Regions from separate parts of the Homo sapiens genome. Here region 1 is linked to region 2. The links are contacts of gene promoters, found by promoter capture Hi-C in human tissues and cell types (Jung and others, 2019). All regions are on one chromosome and are shown on one strand. Each heading gives the region's core, a stretch centred on a gene start or on the middle of the fragment in contact. The rest is flanking DNA. Distances are from core to core; before and after follow the strand shown. Region 1 holds the start of HOXA13 (homeobox A13). Region 2 overlaps JAZF1 (JAZF zinc finger 1).

Region 1 (5,752 bases), core at 2,944-5,443, 740 kb after region 2:
TCCCAAATGATCTGCTCAAGTTTGGCTTCAGAGGTGCTACACTGTTTGACGATTTCGTCTTTTCTCTTTCTCTCTCCTCAGCCCCTCAACCAGTTTTTCCTCTGGATCTTTCTTCCTTTGCCATTATCTCTGTGCCCCAGCCCACCTAGGGTGGGAGAGAGAGGGTTAAGATGTTCTGCAAAAGTGGCTTGTAAAGCTGCTTGGATACATTAAAAGCACATGAATATCCTGAAATACAAAGTGTCTTTAGAATCAACCAAGGAATGTTTATCCTAGTGCTGGATGGATGCAAAGAAATAGTGCCAGGGAGCAGTGCTGACAGCCTCCTCAGAGTTAAAGTGAGAGCAGGTAAATTTCATTTGCTAATGAAAATCAAGCTCGATTAAAACCTGGTTTCCCTTTTTCCTTTTCTTCTCCAATGCTGGGAGCCCAGAGCCGCGTGGACCAGGCTGGCATCCAGTTCCCCACCCAGAAAAACCTAGCTGCGGTTTTTTTCTTCAGTGAGAGGTTTTTGGGCAACCAGTCCCTGCAGGGCACCCTGGCCTACCCCAGGAAGTAAGAAGCCTTGTCAGCCAAGGCATTTTGGAACACTGAGAAAGGCTCTGGTGATTCCTGAAATAAAGGCCGTGCTGCAGAAACTACCCTCCGGTCCTGCCTGCACTGCCCTCTCAGGGCTCCTCCGGGGAAATCAGTGCACCAGACAGTACCTGGGAAGTGACTGCAGCCTCTCCCACCTCTCCCACCTCTACTCATGCAGCCCTCTGCTTGGCTGTCATGCCTAAGGTGCCACCGCTGCCGGCCGATCCTAGTGGGTGCCCTGGCTTCCCCAGTCTAACCCAGGAGGAGCCTGAGAATATAAAATTATCAGGTTGAAGGTGCCTCTGCAATCCTATAGGAATTCCTGAGCCTGGAGAACAAAAAATCAGAGGGACAGACAGCTCAGAAGATCAGGACCCACTACCTTGGCAGGCAAGCAAATCTTGACCTTGCCGTTGGGAAAAGAGGAAAAATGCTAGGAGGGTCTGTGCTTGCTTCCCAGAGCACACCCGTCTCAATCGTCCTCCAAACTTTCTTTTGCCACAGCAAGTCAGTTTGTTGGCTGCCTGGCAGGGAAAGAAATCATATTGGGAAACATTAATAAATATCTTATCTCCCTTAGCAGAAGACAGGGAAGGAAGATTATTCTTGCTTAAAAGTGAGTAGAAATTCTGAAACTCAGACCCAAATTATTCAGAGCTCGTTCTCCTTCTATAAACGACCTCCACTGATTGGTGGCTACAACTCAATACTGACAGGACATGCAGACATTTGAAAACAGTGGGGCATGCCAGGACGCCATGGACATGTCTGGTAGAAAAATAAGATACATGTTGAGATCCAAGACAAGAAGAGAACAAGCAGGGTGCCTTCCTCTAAATAAGCATGTCTTGAGAGGGGTTTTTTTTTTTTTTTTTTTTTTTTAATGATAGGGACACATCGGGGAACTAAAAAAAGTCCAGATAAATTTGATCAATAAGGTGCACCATAAATCTCAAGAATTCAGTCCCCAAGCTTTTTCTTGGCGAGAGCGCCACATTTAAGGAGCAAAGCTTAATTTGAGATGCAATCCAAAGCCTTCCCCCAGCACCATCCCTCTCAGACAAACCTGCTTGTGGCTCCTCGGCCGACAGATGAAATCTTGTCTCACCATTTTTGGTGAGGAGGGACCCAGTCGTCTGTGGAGCTGAGACCCTTTCTCTGCGCGCAGGGTTCGGGGCTACGGTGAAGTGGGAGGGGGAGGGAAGAATGTGGAGCTGGCCTTGGCCGCCGTGTGCACCGGCAGCTGCGCCATGGCCAGAGGTGAGCTGGCACAGGCGCCGGCTAGTGGGGGCTCCCCAAGCTGTGTTTTCGTTTTTCCGGGTCTGGCCGGAAAACCGAAGAGGCTCAAAGCCCTGGCTGAGCAGGGCGGAGGCAGAGAAGAGTCGGTAAACACCGCCCCAAAAACCCCACGAAGGCACCAAAAAATTCTGGGCAGCCGAACAGAGTCAGAGGCGAGAATTTTAAAAAGAGAGAGAAAATTAAGAGTGAGGGGATGTGGGCAATGGGCCTTTTGCTGCTGCCTGTGTCTCTACGCTCGCATGGCAGTTCTCATGCTGGCTGGACTGCAACTTTCAACTTGACCTTGGCCTCCAGCCGTGTCTGACCAGTATGTAAAACCGCCTTCAAGTCCCCAGGAACAGGGGCCTAGAACCCTACTCTGTCTCTTTGTCACTGTGAGTTTTACAATGCCACTTGGAGGGAGGAAGGGGGGTGGTGAAACGGCCAGAAAGTAACAGAAAAATCAAGTCCCTACAGAGGCTAGTTCCTGAGTCTGCAAATGGCCAGTCAGGGAGAAGGTAAACTGGGGGCAAATCAATATTTACCCAGAACTGCTAAAAAGTCAAGAAGGAAAGGGCACACTTGGTGGGGGGGTGGCTGGTGTGGGGGTCATAGAAGGTTTTATTGGGCGACACTTACATTGGTCAGGACAAATCCAGGATCAGGACAGATAAAAGCCCAAGCCCAGCCACATTGGTCTGGATCCTGCAGGAAGCCCAGGGGCCTTAGACAGCAGATGGTGGGGTGTGTGTGAGGGGTGGTATGCGTGCTGCTCTGAGTTTAGGGCTGAGTGTGCAAGCTAGGAGCAGAGGACAGGTCCAAGCCTGGCTTCTCACCAGTCCGCCTGGGGTGGAAAAGAATCCAGCACTCTCCCCAGCACTATTCCGGTAATGTGCCCACTTTCACTTTGAACGCTTGTTCCTCTTCTAGGCATCTGACCAGCTCACAGTAGTGAATCAGGAAGTGGAAGTATGTGGCTCTAAAGCAGCAGGACCCCCAGAACCCCTCGACAAAACATGGCAGCTACAAGACGGGTCGCTGCTTGGTTCTTCAGCACCAACACCCTACCATGCTCCCAAGAAAAGGTTGCATTTCCCAGGCACAGAGGAAAGGCTTCTTGGACTGGTTCTTGGGCAAAGAAGGACTAGGCACCCTCTGCAGGCTGGAGATCCTACTTGAGGGGAAGGCAGGAAGTGGCCCCAAAGAGCCCCTTTTTCTTGTCCCAAAATAGAGTGAAATAGCGGGTTCCCAGATTCCTGGAGAGTCAGGTCCGGTCCACAAAGAAGCGTGGCTTTAGGGCCCAGAAGGGGGGTTTAAGTCCCAGCCAGAAGCACAGCTGGGGCTTGTTCCTCTTAAGCCCCTTCCAGAACTAAGCCAGCCATACTGGCGAGGTGGGAGCATGGATGAATGGTGCACAGGGATCGCTCGCTCTATCTCAAAGTCTCTGGAGGAGGAAGCGTTGTTACCAGGTCAGAGCAAGGATCAGGCTGTATACCTAAGTGTGCGAATGTGAGTGTGTCAGTGTACACTGTGTGTGTGTGTGATGAGTCGTTCTGAGTCTATGGGTCTAAATGCAAACATATGAAATTGCTCACTAACAGTGTGGACAGGGAAGGGATAGGGGCTCCTAAATGCAGTCCAAGCCTCCAGTGGAATGTCCTGGGACCCAGGCATATCCGCAGGAACCGATAAGCAGCAAACACCCTGCCACTGTTTCCCTGGAAAGAGCAAAATCGCAACTCCATCGAAGCCGAAGGCGCCGATGTCCGTCCTGTGGTCTCACTGCAGAAATACGCGCCGGTTCCTGGAAAGAAAACAGTCCCAGAGGCTCCAAGAAACACCCATTCTGAGCTAGGCTGGTCCCGTCCTCCCCACTCTCCCATCCCTGACCGCCGGCAGAATTACCTGACCTGTCCCCACTGCTCCAGATCGCAACCCAATCGCGCGCCCACCTCCCCTCCCCGCCTGGTTGCGCGGGTCTGGGCCCCACTGGGATAAAGGAAGGGAAGGGGGGCGGAGATGGGGCCGCCTTCCTTCCCTGCCCCACCCGCACGTTCCTCCGCCTCTCCCCCGGGTGAATGGTGCGCGGCCGCGCGGCTGGCGCTGGGGACGGCGCGGGCCGCGGCGGGGACGACGGGTGCACCGTGCAGAGCTGGAGTCGGAGCCGCCCGCTTTGCATACGCCGTGGGCGGAGCGGGGGGGCCGGGCCAATGGGCGGCCGCCTGGCGCGACCCCGCGGGGCGCGATCCGCCCCCCTCGCTCGGGCCCCGGCCCCGCGCCGCGCGCTCTTCACTTCTTGGGGGCTTTTTAAAACAGCGCCACTGGGGTCTTCTCCATGCGGCTCGGGCTATGACAGCCTCCGTGCTCCTCCACCCCCGCTGGATCGAGCCCACCGTCATGTTTCTCTACGACAACGGCGGCGGCCTGGTGGCCGACGAGCTCAACAAGAACATGGAAGGGGCGGCGGCGGCTGCAGCAGCGGCTGCAGCGGCGGCGGCTGCCGGGGCCGGGGGCGGGGGCTTCCCCCACCCGGCGGCTGCGGCGGCAGGGGGCAACTTCTCGGTGGCGGCGGCGGCCGCGGCTGCGGCGGCGGCCGCGGCCAACCAGTGCCGCAACCTGATGGCGCACCCGGCGCCCTTGGCGCCAGGAGCCGCGTCCGCCTACAGCAGCGCCCCCGGGGAGGCGCCCCCGTCGGCTGCCGCCGCTGCTGCCGCGGCTGCCGCTGCAGCCGCCGCCGCCGCCGCCGCGTCGTCCTCGGGAGGTCCCGGCCCGGCGGGCCCGGCGGGCGCAGAGGCCGCCAAGCAATGCAGCCCCTGCTCGGCAGCGGCGCAGAGCTCGTCGGGGCCCGCGGCGCTGCCCTATGGCTACTTCGGCAGCGGCTACTACCCGTGCGCCCGCATGGGCCCGCACCCCAACGCCATCAAGTCGTGCGCGCAGCCCGCCTCGGCCGCCGCCGCCGCCGCCTTCGCGGACAAGTACATGGATACCGCCGGCCCAGCTGCCGAGGAGTTCAGCTCCCGCGCTAAGGAGTTCGCCTTCTACCACCAGGGCTACGCAGCCGGGCCTTACCACCACCATCAGCCCATGCCTGGCTACCTGGATATGCCAGTGGTGCCGGGCCTCGGGGGCCCCGGCGAGTCGCGCCACGAACCCTTGGGTCTTCCCATGGAAAGCTACCAGCCCTGGGCGCTGCCCAACGGCTGGAACGGCCAAATGTACTGCCCCAAAGAGCAGGCGCAGCCTCCCCACCTCTGGAAGTCCACTCTGCCCGGTAAATGACGACCTATTCCCAGCCCTGGTCTTCCGGCTCTGCTCCAGCTTCTTCTCCGCTCGCACCCGGGCGATCCCGGGTGCGTTTCTGTTCTCTTCCTGGTCTGCCCTAGCGGCTCTGCACCCCTGGGAGCCCGAGCATGGCTGGCTGGGTCTGCCTGCACTGCCTCGAGTTGAGCTGGTCCCTGGCTCTCCCTGGGTGAGGGGTGGCTTGTGGAGACCTCGGCTAGCTTCCCTCTCCCTCTGCGCCCCGCCCTCCCCAGCCCCTGACACCAATTTAAGGATGAGAAATTGACCAGAAAACAGCTCCCCAAATTGCCCCTCCCTATTCATTCTCTCAAAAATGGCTTCAGTGTAGAAGCTTCGAGTATTGGGACGGGCACCCAGAAAGGAGGCAGGCACAGAAGTGTTGTACCTTGAGCCTGGCGCTAAGGTGTGGGCCGTTGGACCAGGCTATCACTCGAGGCTGCCTACGCGCTGCTCCTGCAGGATGGCCGGGTTGGGGAAGTCACTGGAGCCCTGGGTGATTTCATTTCAGTTCAGAACTAACTACCTTCCCCACTGACCCTCTAGGCTTTAGCAGAAGACAGGATTGTACAGCGGGTGGCAAAGAGCAGCCGGGCGC
Region 2 (6,406 bases), core at 3,865-6,364:
TATTGTGTAGTAGTTATAAATCCATCAGAAAAAGAGTATATTCAGAGATGAAATTGAACTGTCCACAGAAAGCAAAATAACTCAGCAGTTATTTTAATCTTGGAAGTATTTGAAAGCATTTAAAGCTGTTTTGCAAACATGACATTATGAGCATCCTTTGGCAGAGTAATTAAATAATCTGCTAGAAAGGAACAAAAACGTAGACTCTTGACGACAATGAAAATGTATAATATCATCTGCTTTTTAGATGTCATGGCATAAGTAACAGGAGGCTTTATATTTTCACCTCAGAGAGGAAAAACAAATTGCTTTGTGAGAGGAAAAACAAATTGCTTTGTGATTCCACTATAAAATGATCTAGACTTCAGCCAAGTTTGCTTGAAAACAAAAACTTCAGGACCATTTCTGATTGAATGCAGTGGGCATAGCGTAGCTACTCAGAACATTTTGCATTCTTTTTTTTCTTTAGGGCAGTAGCATATATTTACATATTACAGTGATATTCTGTCCTCAGTGGAATAAAAGACCACCGTAGTTTACTAAACATGTAGACACAAGTTCAAGGACTGACACGTAGACAACAAAACCCTTCCTCACCTTTGGATTCAGAACTCTATGTCATCAAAATCTCTGTGTATAAATCTGTGTTTGTGATTGAGGTTACAGCTACAACATAAGACAGAAGCCACCTTTGGAGCCCCTCAGTGGCCTAGAATAATTGCTCCCACTTATGGTCCTTCTGCAGTCACTAGGGAGATTTAAAACCACAAATCCCTACCCCAACATCTGACAGTTCTGCTCTATTAGGGATGACATGCAGCCCAGAAATCTATTTTTGGAAGCCACTCACAACCCTGTGAATACTGAGTACTCCAAAACTTCAAGGAAAATCAGTTGGTCATTGGGGGAATCATGGAGACTCTCGGATGTTTTTTCCAGGAGAATTTCAGTTAAAACAAAGGCTGTTTTATCCCCAGCCTTTGTCAGCTGGTGCTAAATATGAGACACTACAAGATTTCAAAGTGCCTTCAGATTGCGTATTAGATAGATCTTCTTTAGGTTAATTCTTCAAAAATTACATATCTTTATTTGGTGTGTGTGGTAACCAGAACATTTAATTTCCCTTTTAAACTAAACAAATTTACTACAGATTTAAACATATCTCCTGGATATCCAAATACAGATGTTCCTGGATTTATAATGAAGTTATGTCCTGATAAACCCATCATAAGTTAAAAATACATTAAGTTAAAAAGGCTTTTAATACACCTAACCTACCAAACAAACATCATAGCTTAGCCTAGCTGGCCTTAAACATCCTCAAAACACTTATATTAGCCTTTATTCTAGTAAAATCAACTCACACAAACCCTATTTTATAGTAGAGGATTAAATAATTTATTGACTACTGTACTGAAAGTGAAAAACAAAATGGTTGTATGTACTCAAAGTACTGTTTCTATTGAATGTGTATTACTTTTGCGCCATCATAAAGTCAAAAAATTGTAAGTCAAATTATCATAAATCATTCTGTCTGCAGGATGAAGACTTCACCTGGGAGATTTTAGAAGGCAGCCATGGTTGTCAATATTCTGTGAATTGGCCCAGAATTCTAGATCACTCATGAACTCTCAGAAATAAGTTGCTTTCAAGAAAGACCTGTCATTTCCAGACCAGTGCTTCTTAAACTTAAAGTGCATACAAATCCCATAGGTCTGGGGTGGAGTCTAGGATTCTGCCTAACAAGTGCCCAGGCAATGCCGATGCAGCTGGTTCTGAGAACTCCCAGCAAGGGCATGGTGATGAACCACAACCCTTGATATGTGTTGCTTGCTGGTCTGGAGAAAATCAACCGTAAAAAACGGACAGGTGTAACTTGACCTGGGTGTGGGAAGTGATAGTAACTTTGAGAGAAGGGGAGGAGGAAGAACTGAAAAGATCTGATTTTAGGGACACACAAGGCCTGGGTTAAGAAGAGGTGCAGAGGACCCTGCTGGCCCACACCAAGGTCAGGAATCGGGAGGTGCTACACAGAAGCTCAGGGGGATGATCAGCAGAGCTTTTCCTAGTCCAGGGAATTGGTGCTGGGCATGGCTTGCCCCGCTGGGCTTCCCTGGACATCTTACAGGCTAGCTGTCATAATGCCGCATAAAGCCAACACCCACACTCAATTCTGCTTGAAATCACGGCTTCTGGATTTACTTTCTTTTCTAACAGTGTGTCCAACAGCGGTGTGCTTAAACCCCGGCCCTGAAACAAGATTTTTTTAAAAAAAAATTTTTTTACTTCAGTATCCCCAGAGGTACCAAAGTGAGTTCTCGATCACTTTTCCAAAGATCCTAGATAGAAGAACTGTTTTCCTGTGGGTCTTGTGATAGTTTTAAGATGATAATGCATAGTGGGGAGGTGTCAAGGATTATTTCTCGAACTCCGAAATGTATTACCAGTCACACCGTAGCAGATGACAGCGTTCCGGAAAGGGTGTGGCTTAGAGAAATAGAAATTAGGCAAGGGGTTTCCTGCAAAGCCAAATGATCCAATTTTTTTTTTCTGTCCCTTGGAAGGCCAGTGAGTCTCCAAAATAGAAATGAAGCTCCCTAGGGCTGGCTTCAGTCATACTCCTGGATTGCTAACTGCTGACATGTGTTTTTAGGAAGATCGTTGCTAGTGGAAACAGCTTCAGGCAAGTGGCAGCACCCAAGATTCTCATGTGACCCCTGCACAATTTCTGGAGGAACATGACTTTACCAAAAACAATAAATGAAATCTCACATCCATATGTTTCAGTCAAGTTCAAGGGACTATTTTGTTGGCCTGAGACCCAGACTGAAATAAAATTTTTTTTAAGATTTGGTCAACATTATAAAATGAAAAAAGTAGATAATAGCTGCTCAAATTGGGCACCCACCTACAAAACAAATAATCTACCACTAAAGTCACAGTTTGTATTTCAGGTTACTTGATTTTTCAGTAAAATGTGTCAACAAGCATATTCTTCAAAATAGGAAGCCAAATGGCAAATGGTTGGATAACCGGAAAATTAAGGGATTGGTCTGCAAGCAAGCGAAGGCCATTAAAACCTTATGCGCTGTAGACACAGCCTTTGAGCCACACTTTTTCTTGCACTGGACTCATGCATAGAACAATTTGAAATACAGAGACTACAGATATGCATCTAACAGCACACTGGGCACATGTATTATGTTCCTTGTTGCTAAAGGGTTCGGCAAGATGTAGTTCCTTTTGTAGTAGTGTTCAGAGGGAGGTAAATAATGTCAGACCACTGGGCTCTGCACAGTGGGGCAATAACTTTCATGCTAAGCCCATCTGTAGAGGATATGTTTCCATAGTTCCTGTGAAACTTAGGTGGAATTTGAATGGCTGTTGAAGGACACGCCAAGGAGGGAAGTGTGGTACAAAATAATTTCCTATCAACATTGCTTTGTGTCATAGGAATCAAAGAAAGTATGAAAATCAGGAGACAGACTTAAACCCACAAGGCTTTATTCCCAGCTGAAATCTGGGTTTACCTTGACAGAATAAGGTGATGAGAAGCATCAGGATGTTGAAAACTGGGCCCCCAGATATCTCTGTGGAATGCATTAACTTTCAGCTAATGCTCTAGAGAAAGAGCTTTGTAGCTCACCCCAAATGACAATTAGCATCACTCATCAAAGAAAGCACAGGCATGCTCACTTTATGGGAAAGCAGCGAATGCTCATGAGAGGGAGATGACTGACTTGAGTACCCCTGGAAAGAAATTAGCCCACACAGTGTTTATGAAACACTTGATTTACACCCTCGTGGCACTAACTTGGCATCATATCGAGGGGAAGGATTGGCTTCCTAATTTGAGATCATCTGTGGAGGAAGTAATGAAGTGGGCCCGAGGTGTCGGGGAAGAGGGAGCACGTTATTTCAGACGGAAATGATCGCATTCCTTTCTCACATCTCCCCGGATCAGTCTGTGAGAGACCCGCATCTGGGCCTCATTAGCCATCCAGTGCGCGGCCTCCAGCTAGCAGCGGAGGCGTCTACACTACCCTCCTTTCCTCTGCATTGTTTCCCACGACCCTGAGCCTTATCACAACCTGGGTGTGGCCACCAGGGAAATGCTATTTGGCTCCTTACAGAACAGGATGGATTCCCTGTTCTGTCTGCATAGGCCAGGCAGTCCGGATGTAGGGGATGTGAACATCTGTGTTTTAATAGGGGTTCACTTGAGACAGTCCCCTTCTATTCTGGGAAAATTCAGAACTGTATCTGAGGATGTTGCCTCCAGTTATGCTCAGAACCCTGCTGTATTCCGGGTTCTTGTCAGGTTGGCCTAGGAAGGGCAGGCAGGTGAGGCAGGAACGCATCGATGTGACAGAATTTGTTTCGTCATGAAAAAGAAGCCTCTCTGGATTAAGCCAGAGGAGGTTTGTGCCCCATAAATTACCACTCAAGGCTGATCACGCTTGAGGTCATGTGACCAAATAGCGCCTCATCTTACTTCACTCCCAGCACCCCTTGCCCCATGCAAAGGCCAAGGCTTATGTTTCAGACCTGCCTCCTGCCCTGCTGCCTTTGCAGTTTGTCACAGCAGAGAGCCAAAAAGGCACTTATTGTTGATTGTTCCTTATAATTAGAGTGCCACATAACGGTGTGGGGAACATTTTCAGGCCGGTATCACCCTGTCCTTTTCTACTAAAAGCATTGTGGAGGTAATTAAAACGTATTGTGGTGTCCCCTCTGTTTTGAGAAGTGGGTGTTTTGGCTCTCAACTCAGGCCTGGGCTCTGAAACTTACAAGTTGTGGATGTTGCACAAGTCGTTTAACCTTTCTTCTCTTCTTTCCTCATCTCCAGAGGGAATATGCTAAGAGTAGCCACCTCATAGGGATGCTGTGTGGATTAAACAAAGTGAAGCACTCCCCATGGTGACTGGCACGTAGTAAATGCTCAGTTAAATAAATGCTACTCCATTTGCTATTACCAAGGCAGGTTGCAAAATGTTTGACTCAGGTAACCCTTTGAGAAGAGAGTCGTCTTTGCTTTTGAATTCTTTAAGACATTTGTACCTACAAAGGGGAGACTGCACTAAATGATCTGGGTAGGGTAGCTTTCAGCTCTGCTGTGTTCTCATCAGTTCTGACCACAGGGGTGAAGGAGGAAGGCTGCGCATAAGACATTGTGCAAGGTGCATGCAAGAGCTCCATAAATGGTACTTCTAGCTGTTGTTATCTGTTATCTTGATCATTAGGAAAGGAAAAGGCAAATGGGAAGAAAGTAAACAGATGCTCAGCACCTTCTATGTGATAGCACTCTGCTAGGTGTTTCTACATTTGTTACCTTCCATTCCCCTCACTCACCCAGCCCCCAGTGAGGTGAAATGGTGTTGCCTCCATTTTTCTGATGAAGTGATTTATTCAACGTCACACAGCAAATAAGTGAGCTGAAATTTGAACTCGGATCTGATTCCAGATTCCCGGAAAAACTGTAGAAATATGCAGTTCCTTGCCTGTCCCCTCCCCCTTACCCCACTTTCCAGCAGCTTCCCTCCTGTGGGCCGTGCTGAAGCTGGCATAAATTTCAAAACAGCTCATTCTTCCTGCTGGACAGGCCACAAGTAAGATGCATCATAATTAGCTGTGTCTGATTGCCCTCCTGTTGTCCTAAGCTGTAGCCCCTAATTGTATGGTGGTGAGGGTTTTGCTACGGCTAGTTTTATCATTTTGACAGTTTGCTAATAAAAGGTCATCACAGGTACAGAAGCACTCTGATTTACATATGGCAAGTAAAAGGGCTTATGGGAAGTCAGCATCCAAGGTAGGCCTGTGCATTTGTTGCTATTGACACCCATGCTGAGATTCCATAATTGACAAGAAATGCTATTATTAAGCAGGTCTGTTGAGATAATTAGCACTCAGGGTTGCATTTTTAATCGGACTTGAGTCAGATAATTTATCACAGCAGTAGCAAGCTGTCAGGGTCACACAATAAATACTCATTAAGGCTGAATAAAGATTAACTGCAGGCTGAAAGAAAATTAGGCGAAGTAGTAACATTTGATTTTAATATTTACAGTGCTAATTTGCACTGATATTGGCAAAAAGATCACATCCCCAAATTGAGCTCATTTATGAAGGAAAAAGGGAAGGGATGCTATGTTGAGATGCCTGAGTGGGAATCTTTTTAAAGCTTGAAATCTTATTCCTAATTGATTGCCAAAAATATTAATTTCGAAAGGCTCATTTGGTGCAGCTATTCTAGGAGCTTTGGTATCTCTGCATTAGTAAAATGACAACTCCAAACAGAAATTGTGCATCTTGAAGGCGTGCCTAATTTGTTAACATTAGTCAGATACTGCACTTTTAATTTAATGCAACTCACTTGTCTTTGTTCATACATGGGCAGTTTATGGCA

What was found. Contacts are between HindIII fragments. The study calls those that stand out against the background at their distance.
Region 1: a contact is called between the fragment with the promoter of HOXA13 here and a fragment that was not itself captured in region 2, in 1 of the 25 tissues and cell types used here (dorsolateral prefrontal cortex).

Annotation. Positions count from the first base shown.
Region 1 is chr7:27,198,532-27,204,283 of GRCh38, reverse strand. HOXA13 (homeobox A13) reads left to right here and starts at 4,193. Exons shown (of 2, transcript NM_000522.5): 1 at 4,193-5,128. The coding sequence starts at 4,207. It overlaps HOTTIP (HOXA distal transcript antisense RNA), which reads right to left and starts at 3,863. Exons shown (of 3, transcript NR_037843.3): 1 at 3,763-3,863; 2 at 1,646-3,661. RefSeq lists an enhancer at 1,322-1,846. The HindIII fragment of the contact is 6,019 bases long and covers 3,540-5,752 here.
Region 2 is chr7:27,941,005-27,947,410 of GRCh38, reverse strand. All of the region lies in intron 2 of JAZF1 (JAZF zinc finger 1), which reads left to right. Among named protein-coding and RNA genes, the nearest start is that of TAX1BP1-AS1, 200 kb to the right of the region's middle. The HindIII fragment of the contact is 7,818 bases long and covers 1,206-6,406 here.